Regions from separate parts of the Homo sapiens genome. Here region 1 is linked to region 2. The links are contacts of gene promoters, found by promoter capture Hi-C in blood cells and fetal thymus (Javierre and others, 2016). All regions are on one chromosome and are shown on one strand. Each heading gives the region's core, a stretch centred on a gene start or on the middle of the fragment in contact. The rest is flanking DNA. Distances are from core to core; before and after follow the strand shown. Region 1 has its middle 34 kb from the start of BBS5. Region 2 holds the start of METTL5 (methyltransferase 5, N6-adenosine).

Region 1 (6,450 bases), core at 2,288-4,787, 380 kb after region 2:
AATTTGTAGTTAGACTTTTGAAAGATCCGGGCCTAGATAATTCACTGAGAAAACTAGAGAGGAAAATATAAAGAGTGATATTTAAAGAACTGAAAAGAGTAGGAAAGAATATGGGAATTATTTTGCATATGGTAACTTTCAGGACATGGGGCTTCCCAGTTTCCTCGTCTAGACTAGAGCAGGGGCCAGAACAGGGAAGTCGAAATAGGTCTTAAGGCTCGTAGTAGTTCATTTTGGATCTGATACAATAACTTATCAAACAGAGCAGAGTCAAAAATTTTCTATATATCCTGGTTAAAAGTTATCTATCCATTCTCTACAGAAATTTTAGTTTTTTTCCCATGTTCTTCAGCATATCTTCTCCCCCATTGCTGGCTGGAAATCATTAAAGCAGCCATGAAGGCTGTCTTAAGACAGTCAGTGTTAGCAGGAGTCCATGGGGATTTTGTGAGCCCTGTATACACTGTAATGAGGTGTAGGGAGTTGGAGATACACATAGGGTAAGGGTGATTTAGAGCATCATTTATAACAGAATACAGGAGATGGAGTTGCAGGAGACCTTAGAGGTTAAATAGATCATTCTCCTACTCAGTGAAGTAATCCCTTTGACAATAACCTTGATAGATGGTTATTTAACGTCTGCTTGAACATTTTCAGTGATTTCCAGCCAATGACGAGAGGCTCACTGCTTATCTAGGCAGGTCGTTTTATTTATTCTCAACTTGATAGAAAGCTTTCCTGTATAGTGGTTTGAGATCTGCCTTCTTGTAACTACTCCCTGGGGGACACAGTTTTTTCCCTCAAGAGTAACACAGAATAGGCCTCAGTAAACTACTTGGACATTTTTCTAATATAGTAGGAGAGTTACCATGTCATTCCTTCTCTTCTCCAGGCTAAATAGTCCTAATCCTTTCTATCATCCTCTAATCATCTTGGTCACCTTCCTTTAGATGCTGTTGATTTTTATCAATGTCCCAAATAAAACACAATATTATAGATGCAGTCTGGCTACTTTAGAGTCCAGTGGGTCTGTAGCTTTGTTTGTTCTGGATTGAATACTTCCATTAATGCATCTCAAGCTGTTTCTTTTGATGGTTAAGTCATACTTTTGGCACGGCTGAGCTGTATTCAACAAAAACTGTCCTATCTTTAAAATATTTACATAGTTAAAAAATTAACATATAGTAAAAGGGACATTTTTAGTGTGCAATTCTATGAGTCTTAACACATGTATAGATTTGTGTAACTACTGCCGTAATCAGGACCTAGAACAGTGCCATCACTCCAAAAACCTCCCTCCCGCTACACATTTGCTGTCATAGCCTCCTGGGACCCCCTAGCCCTGGAATCTACAAATCTGTTTTCTATTACTAAAAGTTTGTCTTTTCATGAATGTTACATAAATGGAATCATTCAGAATGTAATTCTCAATTGTTTTTACTCACAACACTTCTGACATCTAATGTGCATTTTTTTTTTCTCACACTAACCAATTCCCCAACTTTCTGGACACCAACTCGGTGTTCTAAAATTCACTTCAGGCACTGATGCTTGGAGTTGGAAAAGATTCTACTCATTAAGGGTGTAATATCACAAGACAGCCTCTGCTCTGGGCCACCCATACTTAAGGCTGACAGAGGATAAAGTCAGTGAGTTCCCAAAACCCCCTCTTCACGTTCAATAATTTGCTAGAATGGCTCACAGAACTCAGGAAAGTGCTCTACTTACTGTTGCCAGTTTATTATAAAGGATACAACTCAGGATCAGCCACATGGGAGAGATGTGCGGGGTGTGGTAAGGGCAAAGGGGTGCAGAGCTTCCAGGCCCTCTCAGGTGCACCACCCCTTCCAGCACCTCAATGTGTTCACTAACCTGGAGGCTCTCAGAACCCCATTGTTGAGTGTTTTTATGGAGGTTCCATCTATAAACATAAGCAAAATCGATTAAATCATTGGCCATTGGTGATTAACTCAGTCTCCATTCCCTTTCCCCTCCCTAGAGGTCTGGGGATGGGGCCGAAAGTCCCAACCATGTAATCACGTAATTGGTTCCTCTAGCAACCAGTCCCCATCCTGAAGCTATCTAGGAGCCCACTAAGTCACTTTATTAATATAAACTCAAATATGGTGGAAAGGGGCTTGTTATGAACGACAAAAGACATTCCTATCATCCCCATCACTCAGGAAGTTTTAGGAGCTCTGTGTCAGGAACCAGGGACAAAGACCAAATATGTATTTCTCACTGTATCACAGTAACCTTGTGAAACTGGCTTCTTTTACTCAGCATAGTGCCTTTATGATTCATTCAATTTGTGGCATGTATCAGTAGTTTGTTCCTTTTTATTGTTGAGTAGTATTCCATTGTGTAGATGTACCAGAGTTTATTTACCCATTCACCAGTTTAAGGACATTTAGCTGTTTCCAATTTTGGGCAATTATAAATACAACTGCTAAAAATGGTCAAGTACAAGTTTTTGTGTGAATATGTCTTCATTTCTCTAAAGTAAATACTTAGAAGTGAAATTGTTGGGCTATATCTAACTTTATAAAAAATTGTCAAATGATTTTTCAGAGTAGCTGTTTTTGAATTTCCACCAGCAACACATGATTGTTCTAGTTGTTCTGCATCCTTGTCAGCACCTGGTATTGTCAGTAATTTTTATTTTAGCTAGGAGTTTAGTGATATTTCATCCTGGTTTTAATCGACATTTCCCTAATTGCTGAAGATGTTAGATGTTGTACTGTGCTAATTTGCTTTCTGTGTATCCTTTTTGGTGAAATATCTGTACACATCTTTTTCCATCTTTTATTTATTTATTTTTTAAGAGACAAAGTCTTGCTCTGTTGCTCAGGGCTGAGTGCAGGGGTGTGATCATAGCTCACTGCACCCTCAAACTTCCGAGCTCAAGTGATCCTCCCACTTAGCCTCCTAGGTAGCTGGGACTACAGACATGTACCACCATGCCATACTGATTAAATTTTTTTTTTTTTTTTTTGTAGAGATGGGAGTCTCACTATGTTACCCAGGCTGGTCTTGAACTCCTAGGCTCAAGCGATCCTCCCCTCTGGGTTTCCCAAAGTGCTGGGATTACAGGCATGAGCCACTGCCTCAGGCCTTTTTCCATCTTTTAACTGTTTGTTTTTTTACTAATGAATTTTGAGAGTTAAAAAAAATTCTGGATAGAAGTCCTTTACCAGACATACGATTTACAAATAATTTCTCCCAGTTTGTAGCTTTTTTTTCATTCTCTTAACAGTGAACATCTTTTGCAGAGTAAAAGTTTTAAATTTGTTTGAAGTCCAATTTATTAATATTTTCCTTCATAGATTACATTTTTAGTGTCCTATCAAAGAACTTTTTGCCTAAACCCAGGTCATGAAGTTCTATTTATATATATTTCTAAAGATTGTATCACTTTGGGTTTTACATTTAGATTTATAACCCATTTTGAGTTAATTTTTATATATGGTGCAAGTTATGAGTCGAGTGTCATTGTCTTGCACATGGATACTCAATGTTTCCAACACTATTTGTTGAAAAGACTATCCTTTCTCCACTGAAATGCTTTTGCATGTGTGTCAAAATTAATATATGTATGGTTTTGTTTCTGGACTCTATTATGTTTCATTGATTTATGTGTCTGTTCCTTTGCCAATACTACATTCTCTTGATTATTGTAGCTTTGTTTTTTTTAAATTTAATTTAATTTTATTATTATTATACTTTAAGTTTTAGGGTACATGTGCACAATGTGCAGGTTAGTTACATATGTATACATGTGCCATGCTGGTGTAGCTTTGTAGTACATCTTAAAATACAGTAGTGTGATTCTTCCAACTTTATTCCCCCTTTTCAAAATTATTTAGGCTATTTTAGTTCCTTTGCTTTTGCATATAAATATTAGAATCAGATTGTCTATATCTGCCAAATATGTTGCTGGGATTATGATTGGAATGCATTAAACATATGGATCAATTGACATCTTTATTATGTTGAGTCTTTCAGTACTTGAACATGGTATGTCTCTCTATTCATACAGATCTTGATATTTTAAAATCAGTGCTTTGAGGTTTACAGCATACAGAGCCTTTAAAAATTTTTGTTAGATTTATACCTAGGTATATAATTTTTTGGACATATTATAAGTGGTATTGTGTTTTAAACTTCAGTTTCCCTTTGTTTATTGCTAGTAAATGAAAATATAATTGATATTTATGTGTTATCCTTGTAGCCTGCTATTTTGCTAAATTCACTTAGATCTAGGAGGGTTTTTTTTTTTGGGTAAATTCCTCGGGATTTTTACGTTGTTTATGAAACAGTTTTATTTCTTCCTTTCAATCTGTGTGCATTTAATTTAATTTATTTATTTCTTGTTTTATTCTACTGGCTCGGAGTTCTAGTAGAATGCTAAATTGGAGTGTTAAAAGTCTTTGCTCTGTTCTTGACTTTAGAGGAAAAGCATTCAGTCTTCATGATTAAGTATGATGTTAGCTGTAGTTTTGTTTTTTTGAGAATGCTGTTTATCAGATTGAGAAAAAGCCCATCTATTCCTAATTTGCTGAGATTTTTATCTGAGATGGATGTTGAGTTTTAGAAAATGCTTTTTTTTCTGCAGCAATCGAGATCTGATCATATGGTTTTTCTTCTTTAGGCTATTGATATGGTGGATTACACTGATTAATTTTAAAAATATTGAACCAGCCTTGCTTTCCCAGGATAAATTCCACTTAGTTGTGGTATATTTTTCATGTTTTATACTTGCTGAATTAGATTCAATAATATTTTGTGCCTCTCATCATTAAGGCTATTGTTGTATAGTTTTCATGTACTATCATCATCTTCTGGTTTTGTTATCAGGATAATGCTAGTAGCCTCATAAACTTTGCTGAGAAGAACTCACTTCTCTTTTCTTTCCTGGAAGAGATTGTATGGAATTGATGTAATATCTTCTTTAAATGTTTTATAGAATCTGCCAGTGAAACCATCTGAGTCTAGAAATTTCTTTCTTTCTCTTTTTTCTTTTTTTGAGACGGAGTCTCGCTCTGTCACCCAGGCTGGAGTGCAATGGCCCGATCTTGGCTCACTGCAGGCTCCGCCTCCCGGGTTCACGCCATTCTCCTGCCTCAGCCTCCTGAGTAGCTAGGACTACAGGCACTCACCACCATGCCCGGCTAATTTTTTGTATTTTTAATAGAGACGGGGTTTCACCGTGTTAGCCAGGATGGTCTTGATCTCCTGACCTCGTGATCTGCCCACCTTGGCCTCCCAAAGTGCTGGGATTACAGGCGTGAGCTAGAAGTTTCTTTTTAGAAGGTTTTCAACGACATGTTCCATTTCTTTAATAGTTACAGAAAAATTCAGATTGTCTATTTCATCTTGGTTGCATTTTGGTATTTTGAGGTTTTAAGGAACTGGTTCATTTCATCTTTGTTGTTCCATTTATGTGCTTAGAATGGTAGCATTCCCTTATACCTTAAACATCTGTGGGGTCTATAGTGATCCCATCTTTCTTTCCTGATATTGATAATGTGTGTCTTTTCTCCTTTTTTCTTTGTTGATCTTGATAGAGAATTTTAAATTTTATTGATCTTTTCAAAGTACTAGCTTTTGGTTTTATTTTGTCTAGTCTTCTTTCTTCCAGTTGCCCTTTTTTGGTTTGGTTAGTTTTAATTTCATTGATTTCTGCTTTTACCTTTATTATTTTCTTCCTTTTGCATGCTTTGAACATATGTTGCTCTTCTTTTTCTAGTTTTTAAAAATAGAATCTTAGCTAGTGGATCTGAGATCATTCTTCTTCTTAATATGAGCACATAATGGGTATAATTTCACCTTTAAACACTGCTTTACCTGTACACCACAAATTTTTACATTTTATTTTATGTTTCATTTAATTCAAAGTATTTTCTAATTTCTCCTGAGGCTTCCTCTTTGATCTGTGGGTTGTTTAAAGATCTACTGTTTAATTTAAAAGTGTTTAAAACTTTTTTTGGTATTATTGATTTTTAGTTTAATTTTCTTATGGCCAAAGAACTTTGTGTGATTTCAACTCTTTTACTTTTGATAAGGTTTATTTTATGACCTAGTATATGCTCTATCTTGATGAATATTCTGTGTGCCTATATAAAGACTATCATGTTGTTATGGGGTAAAATATTCTATTAATGTTGATTAGATACAGTTCTTTAATAGCATTGTTCAGTTCTGTGTCCTTGCTGATTTTCTGTCTACTTGTTCTAACGATTACTGAAAGAGGAGAGTTGAAATTTTCAACTATAATTGTGGGTTTGTCCATTTTTCCTTCCAGTTTTGTTAGTTTTTGCTTCATGTATTTTAAAGCTTTGTTGCTAGGTATATTATCACTTAGGATGGTTATATATTCTTGGTTAATGGACAATGTCCCTTTTTATCCCTGGTAATTGTCTTTGCTCTGAATTCTTCTCTGCTATTAAA
Region 2 (7,032 bases), core at 596-3,095:
CAACAACAACAACAACAACAAAGAAGAACAGGAGTGTTTCCAATCCATAACCTTGTGTTTGAAATGAATGAAACATAATTAAAACAGGTTATTCCTGGTCTTCTACATGAGTTAAGTATGTCACGATCATCATATAACAGTGATAAGTTAAATTTGCTCAATAATTTTACGAATCACTAAATTATAAACTAAATAAAACTTTATGTATTAACTTTACATGCTAAAACTTTGTATGTTTTAACTCATTTGATTCTCATAACAGATAACTTTGAATTCTGCTATTCCTAGAAGTAGCAGCCTCAGACACTTCTCTACTTCGTCATCGTCCATTCACTCTTTTTCTTCTTCCTATAATAATGCAAAGAGGTGTCCATCCACAGGCTTAAACGCAATCCTGCAATCCTTTTACTTAACCACTGGATCCTGCCTTCTCAGGATCCCAACTCCATCCAATATCCTCTTGCATTTTTAACCCCTCTCTTTCTATTAGCTCAATTCTTGTCAGAATTTGTCTCCTCCTGTCTTAAAAATAATTGAAAAAATAATAAAGCTTCCCCCATTACTAAGCATCCAACCATTCTTTTCGTAGGCCACCTTTCTCTTTCTCTTTCTTTTCTTCTTTCTTTTTTTTTTTTTTTTTTTTGAGACAGGGTCTCACTGTCGACCAGACTGGAGTGCAGTGGCGCAATTTCAGATCACTGGAAGCTTTGCCTCCCGGGCTCAAGCGATTTTCCCACCCCAGCCACCCGAGCAGCTGGGACCACAGGCTCGCGTCATCAGACCCAGCTAATTTTTGTATTTTTAGTAGAGACAGGGTCTCCTTATGTTGCCCAGGCTGGTCTCAAACTCCCGTCTCAAGCAATCCGCCCATCTCGGCCTCCCAAAATGTTGGGATCACAGGGGTGAGCCACCGCTTCCGGGGCCACGTTTAATTGTTCACATTTACTCTTTCTTCTTCCTAAATTTCCATTCGCTCCACAATCTGCTACAACTTAATTTCTGCTCCTACTTTATGAAGCCCGACCTCTTTCCAGTATTTGACACCACTACCTATTCTTTTATTTTCATTTCCACTGTCTTTTTTTTTTTGAGACGGAGTCTCGCTCTGTCTCCCAGGCTGGAGTGCAGTAGCTTGATCTCGGCTCACTACAAGCTCCGCCTTCCGGGTTCACGCCATTCTCCTGCCTCAGCCTCCCGAGTAACTGGGACTACAGGCGCCCGCCACCAAGCCCGGCTAATTTTTTTGTAATTTTAGTAGGGACAGGGTTTCACCGTGTTAGCCAGGATGGTCTCAATCTCCTGACCTCGTGATCCACCCACCTCGGCCTCCCAAAGTGCTGGGATTACAGGCGTGAGCCGCCGCGCCCTGCCTCTCCACTATCTCTTCTTTGGGTTTCTTTGACATCACCACTCCTGTGAGAATTGCAAGTGACACAAATGACCTAAAAATTGGGAAACAAAGTTACAATAAAATAAGGCATGAGAATGGAGAAGGAGGTAAAGGTGAATGGAGATCGCTACTTTTTGAGCCGAGACTTGGGAAACAAGAAGAGTCACTCTGGGCCATACAACAAAGTGACTGTGACTTTCTCTCCCGCATCCCTTTCACTCTGTCTTTCCCCATCCTTTGAGGGCCCGCAGGTACTCATGGCAAACTAGAGGGTAATGAGCACGCGACAGGCGGCGAGGACTGGCGGTGGGTCAGCAAGTAGCGCAGGCTTTGCAGGCGGAGGGGATGGGGCAATGAGGCCCCCAGGTGGCCAGCGGAACCCCGGCTCAAGATAAACGCTGCAGCTCGGCGCCGGGCCGCTGGGCGGCGAACGCGTGCGCGCGTGCGGCCTGGCGCTTCCGGCACCGGCCGAGGTGCGGGTCGCCTCCAGAGGTGCGTGGTCGTGGCGCGAGGGATCCTGAGGCTGCTCCAGCAGTGCGCCGCCGCCGTCTCCTGGGGCGGCTTGGGTTAGCCGGGAGGTGGGTCAGAGGCTCGCCCCGTGCCCTGCGTCCGGGCGTCTCCTTAGGGCGCGTCTTCGGGTCCGGCCAGCGGTGCTGAAAAAGGGAGAAGGTTGGGGGTAGGGAGGAAACAAGATCCCAGTTCAATAGATTTCTCCGCAGATCCTGTGCCTTCAAACCCTACGAGTCCATACTTTAAAACAAAATGAAGAAAGTAAGGCTTAAGGAACTAGAGAGTCGCCTGCAACAAGTGGATGGATTTGAAAAGCCCAAGCTACTTCTGGAACAGTATCCTACCAGGCCGCACATTGCAGGTAGGGCGGCTGGTTCACCACGCCCCGGCTTTCGGCGTTAGTCCAGTCTACTCTGTGATAAAAATAGAACAGTTATTTGGATACAGAGAATGTCTAGAGAAATTCTGCCCTAAGATCACCTGTCGCGTTAGAGAGGCCTTCCTTGACACTGCAGCTCAAGGCACACCCTCCACAGACATACACACTATCATTTTACTGTCTAGTTTTCTGCATATCCCTTAACACTGCCAGACATCTTTTTAATGTGTTTTTTTCTCTTCTCACATTACAATCTCTGAGGACAAGGAATTTGTTAGACTTGTTCATACTTGAATTCCCAGTGCCCAGAAGAGTCGCTGGTACTATTTAGGAGCTCAGTAAACATTTACTAAATAAGGATCAGTTTCCCATTGCTACTAATTGCCTACGCAAGGATTCTTGTGCTATATACTCTGCCCTAGAAATGAATACCAGAGTTGATAGTGGAATGATAGTTTAACAAAATCAGAGTATGTGCTGTGTAAAGATGAGCATGCATATTTTAACAGATTTTCTGAGCATTAGCATTGTTGCTTCATGCCAGATATTGATACTGGGAGTACAAGAGAGAATACAGGACAACATATATTTATGTTACCGAAGTCATTGGGAAACCTTAGGGGAAAAAAATTTTATTATTATTATTTTTTGAGATAAGGGTCTCACTCTGTCACCCAGGCTGGAGTGCAGTGGCATGATCACGGCAACTGCAGCCTTGACCTCCAGGACTCAAGTGATCCTCCTACCTAAGCCTCCCGAGTAGCTGGGACTACAGGCATGCACCGTCATGCCTGGCTAATATTTTTTATTTTTTGTAGAGACAGCGTCTTGCTATGTTGCCCAAGATGGTCTCAGACTCCTGGGCTGAAGCGATCTTCCCACTGGGGCCTCAAGAAGTGCTGAGATTACAGGCATGAGCCACTGAGGCTGGCTCCTTAGGAAAATTAATTTTCTGAGAGTACCTGCAAGGAGTTTTTTCCAGTTCCAAAATAGTTGTTTCTAAGTTGTCAATGAAAGTCAAGGAGAATACATGTGTATTTACACTTAACTCCAAGATACTGTCATGATTCCAACCAAAAATTCACACAAAACTACTGTGTCTAGGTTAAGACCAGTTTTCTCAAATAATGACTTACTAGTCTTCTGACTGTAGGTTTTTTTAGTGGAATCCAGTTTAAAAAATAATAACAATCTGGCCAAGTACAGTGACTCACCCCTATAATCCCAGCACTTTGGGAGGCCAAGGCAAGAGGATGACGAGCCCAGGAGTTCAAGATCAGCCTGGGCAATACAGTGAGACCCCAGCTCTTAAAAAAAAAAAATTAGCCTAGTGTGGTAGTATGTGCCTATAGTCCCAGCTGCTGATACTAAGGCAGGAGAATTGCTTGAGCCCTGGAATTTCAGGCTGCAGTGAGCTCTGATCCGCCACTGCACCCCAGCCTGGGTGATAGAGATAGACCCTGTCTCTGAAAAAAAACAACAAAAAACTTCTGGATCCGCAGGAATCAGTGGCCAACAGTCCTTGCTGGGTTCAGATATCTTCAGGGAAATATCGGTGGTGGTGGTATTCATGTTTGACCTTCAGTGTGTATCTAACACCCAGTAGTTCTATTATCAGGTCTCATTTGTAGATTATGAATATATATGTCTGTAGATCATGAGTATATGTGTCTAAAGGCTACATTGTGGAGCTTATGGTGCTTGTGTTCTGGTGACAAACTTGTTAAAACAAAGTTCTGTGGCTAGGCACAGTGGCTCATGTCTGTAATCCCAACACTTTGGAAAGCCGGGGCGGGAGGATCACTTGAGCCCTGGAGTTCGAGAGCAGCGTGGGCAATATAGTGAGAACCTGTGTTTAAAAAAAAAAGAAAAAAAAAGATTCTATGTCTTTGTGATGCTAATGCTTGTTTGATAGTGGTTCCTAGTCTTATAGATTTCACAGATAAGTAAAATTTCAAAACAATTTTGGAAATTGATAGAGTTGCCAAATTTATGTTGACAAAAAAGGATTTTTTTAAAAACTATTTACTCTTACCATTCTTTCTTAAAAATATTTCAGCATCAAAGAAAGAACCGATATGAGTATATGGCAATGTTTTTAACAAGCTGAGGAAAAACTAAACGTTTTGACTTTTTTTTATTTTACCTCAGAGACTGGGCACAGTTTTGTCATTCTTGGCATTGCTAGCAGAGACTATTTTTTGAGAAACACTGGTGGGTATTAGCTTCCTTTATGGTGCCTCTTACTACATACCAAATCATTACCCCTTATCTTTTACAAAAATAATCTGGAATGGCATTTGGGGAGGACTAAGTAATGCAACACAAGAAATTATTTTAGAAAGAGTCATTTGCACAAATTAGATTTTAGTCACCGGCTTGCTTACTTATTCTTTTTTTTTTTATTTTTTAGCATGTATGCTCTATACAATCCATAACACTTATGATGACATTGAAAATAAAGTCGTTGCAGATCTAGGATGTGGTTGTGGAGTACTTAGCATCGGAACTGCAATGTTAGGAGCAGGGTACGTAATGCAATATATGCTATTTGGGTATTGGGTGGCTTTAATAAGGAGCATCAATGGGATTAACTGAATTATATTTATGAGACTCCACAGAATGAGATATAGGGAGCAAAAATCTGATACTGAATACATTTTGAATGGGCAGAAGATCTAAACAAACTACAAAAATTAAATAAAAATGGTGAAAGCAGCAGTTCCTTTTATACAAACCTGAGTTTCCAACCCCTGCCGGGTTTGGAAATTATGCTGTTACACTTGACTGGGCACAGTGGCTCATGCCTGTAATCCCAACACTTTGGGAGGCCAAGGTGGACAGATTACTTGAGCCCAGGAGTTTGAGACCAGCCTGGGCAACATGGTGAAATCCCATGTCTACAAAAAATACAAAAATTAGCTGGATGTGGTGGTGTGCGCCTGTGGTCCCAGCTACTTGGGAGGCTGAGGTGGGAGGATTGCTTGAGCAGTGCAAGATGGCACCACTACACTCACCTGGGTGGCACAGCAAGATCCTGTCTGAAAAAAGAAAAAAAAAAAGAAGAAAACACTCACTCTTACTTTGCTAATTGGGTTAAAAAGATATATGGTTTAAAAAAAAAACAGCTAATTTTGGTTTTGTTTTTACTTGGGAGCTATAAGTCGCCACTCTTTGTATGTGTTTTGTATTTATAGGTTGTGTGTTGGATTTGACATAGATGAAGACGCATTGGAAATATTTAATAGGAATGCAGAAGAGTTTGAGTTAACAAATATTGACATGGTTCAATGTGATGTGTGCTTATTATCTAACAGAATGTCCAAGTCATTCGATACAGTAATTATGAATCCTCCCTTTGGGACCAAAAATAATAAAGGTTTGTAACAAGAATCGGGTATATTGGTATATTTATAGAAAAGATTTTAAAACCATTTTTAAGGCCAGGCGCAGTGGCTCAGGCGTGTAATGCCAGTGCTTTGCGAGGCTGATACAGGAGGATCATTTGGGGCCAGGAATTGGTAGCCATCCCGGGCAACATAGTTAGACCCTGCCTCTACCCACACACACACACACACACACACAAATTTTAATTTCCCAAGTGTGGTGGTGCACCTATAGTCCTAGCTACTCAGAAGGTTGAGGTGGGAGGATCACCTGAGCTCAGGTATTCGGGGCTGCGATGAGCCATGAATGTGCCACTGCACTCCAGCCTTGGTAACAGCAAGACCCTGTCTAGAAAAAATTAAACAAAAATAAAAACCATTTTTATCACTGTTTGGGCTAAGTGATTTTATCACTCTTCATTAAATAAACCAAGGCTAAGTGATGTTATTACTCTTCATTAAGTAAACCAATCTCTTATTTGTATAGTTCTTATAATTTACATTTCAATTTGTTTAATGCATGGCTAAGAAACTGAGTTTTTCAACTTTCATTTTTACAAATTTGTATTAAGTAAACAAAGATAGTCATGTCATTTATTGTATATCTCCCATTTGCTTTCAGGAATAATTTGCCTAACCCTTATGAATGAATACGAAACATAGAAAGAATTTTATACTTTCAGAATCTGTTTTTTAATGTCTTAACAGACCCAAGGGTTTCTACATGTGCCCATCAGTAACAGTGACTCACCGTGGCTGTTAATTTTGTGTGTACTGTGGGCAAGGAGGTTAGGAAGTCAGTGAGGGTAGGAAAAGACATGCATAGTTTGGCCGGGCGTGGTGGCTCACGCCTATAATCCCAGCACTTTGGAGGCTGAGGTGGGTGGATTACCTGAGGTCGGGAGTTTGAGACCAGCCTGACCAACATGGAGAAACCCCGTCTCTACTAAAAATACAAAATGAGCCAGGCATGGTGGCACATGCCTGTAATCCCAGCCACTAGGGAGGCTGAGGCAGGAGAATCACTTGAATCCGGGAGGCGGAGGTTGCGGTGAGCTGAGATCATGCTATTGCACTCCAGCCTGGGCAACAAGAGCGAAACAAAAAAAAAAAAGACATGCATAGTTTAAAAAGTACCCTGCCCCCACCAAGATGATTCTGAATAGTACTCTATGCATTTCCTTCTCCCCTTTTTGAAGTCATTAATGTTGGAATATAATATTAAAATTTTTACTTTATCCTTATTTAACCAAGACAGTATAATTCTGGTTTTATTCTACCAGCCTTAAAATAATATTTTGATAGTTTATTTGTACCCTTATTGCTAAAAGATTTCAAGGTGGCTATTTTGAAGTTTGGAAGAAAAT

What was found. The method cuts DNA at HindIII sites, captures the fragments that hold promoters and counts their contacts. A CHiCAGO score of 5 or more calls a contact.
Region 1: a fragment that was not itself captured here is called in contact with the fragment with the promoter of METTL5 in region 2 in 1 of 17 cell types (M2 macrophages); the score reaches 5.3 in M2 macrophages.

The regions. Positions count from the first base shown.
Region 1 is chr2:169,442,580-169,449,029 of GRCh38, reverse strand. No RefSeq gene overlaps it. Among named protein-coding and RNA genes, the nearest start is that of BBS5, 34 kb to the left of the region's middle. The HindIII fragment of the contact is 5,603 bases long and covers 736-6,338 here.
Region 2 is chr2:169,819,718-169,826,749 of GRCh38, reverse strand. It overlaps METTL5 (methyltransferase 5, N6-adenosine), which reads left to right and starts at 1,845. Exons shown (of 7, transcript NM_014168.4): 1 at 1,845-2,261; 2 at 4,693-4,807; 3 at 5,477-5,658. The coding sequence starts at 2,153. RefSeq lists a silencer at 1,096-1,299. The HindIII fragment of the contact is 10,424 bases long and covers 708-7,032 here.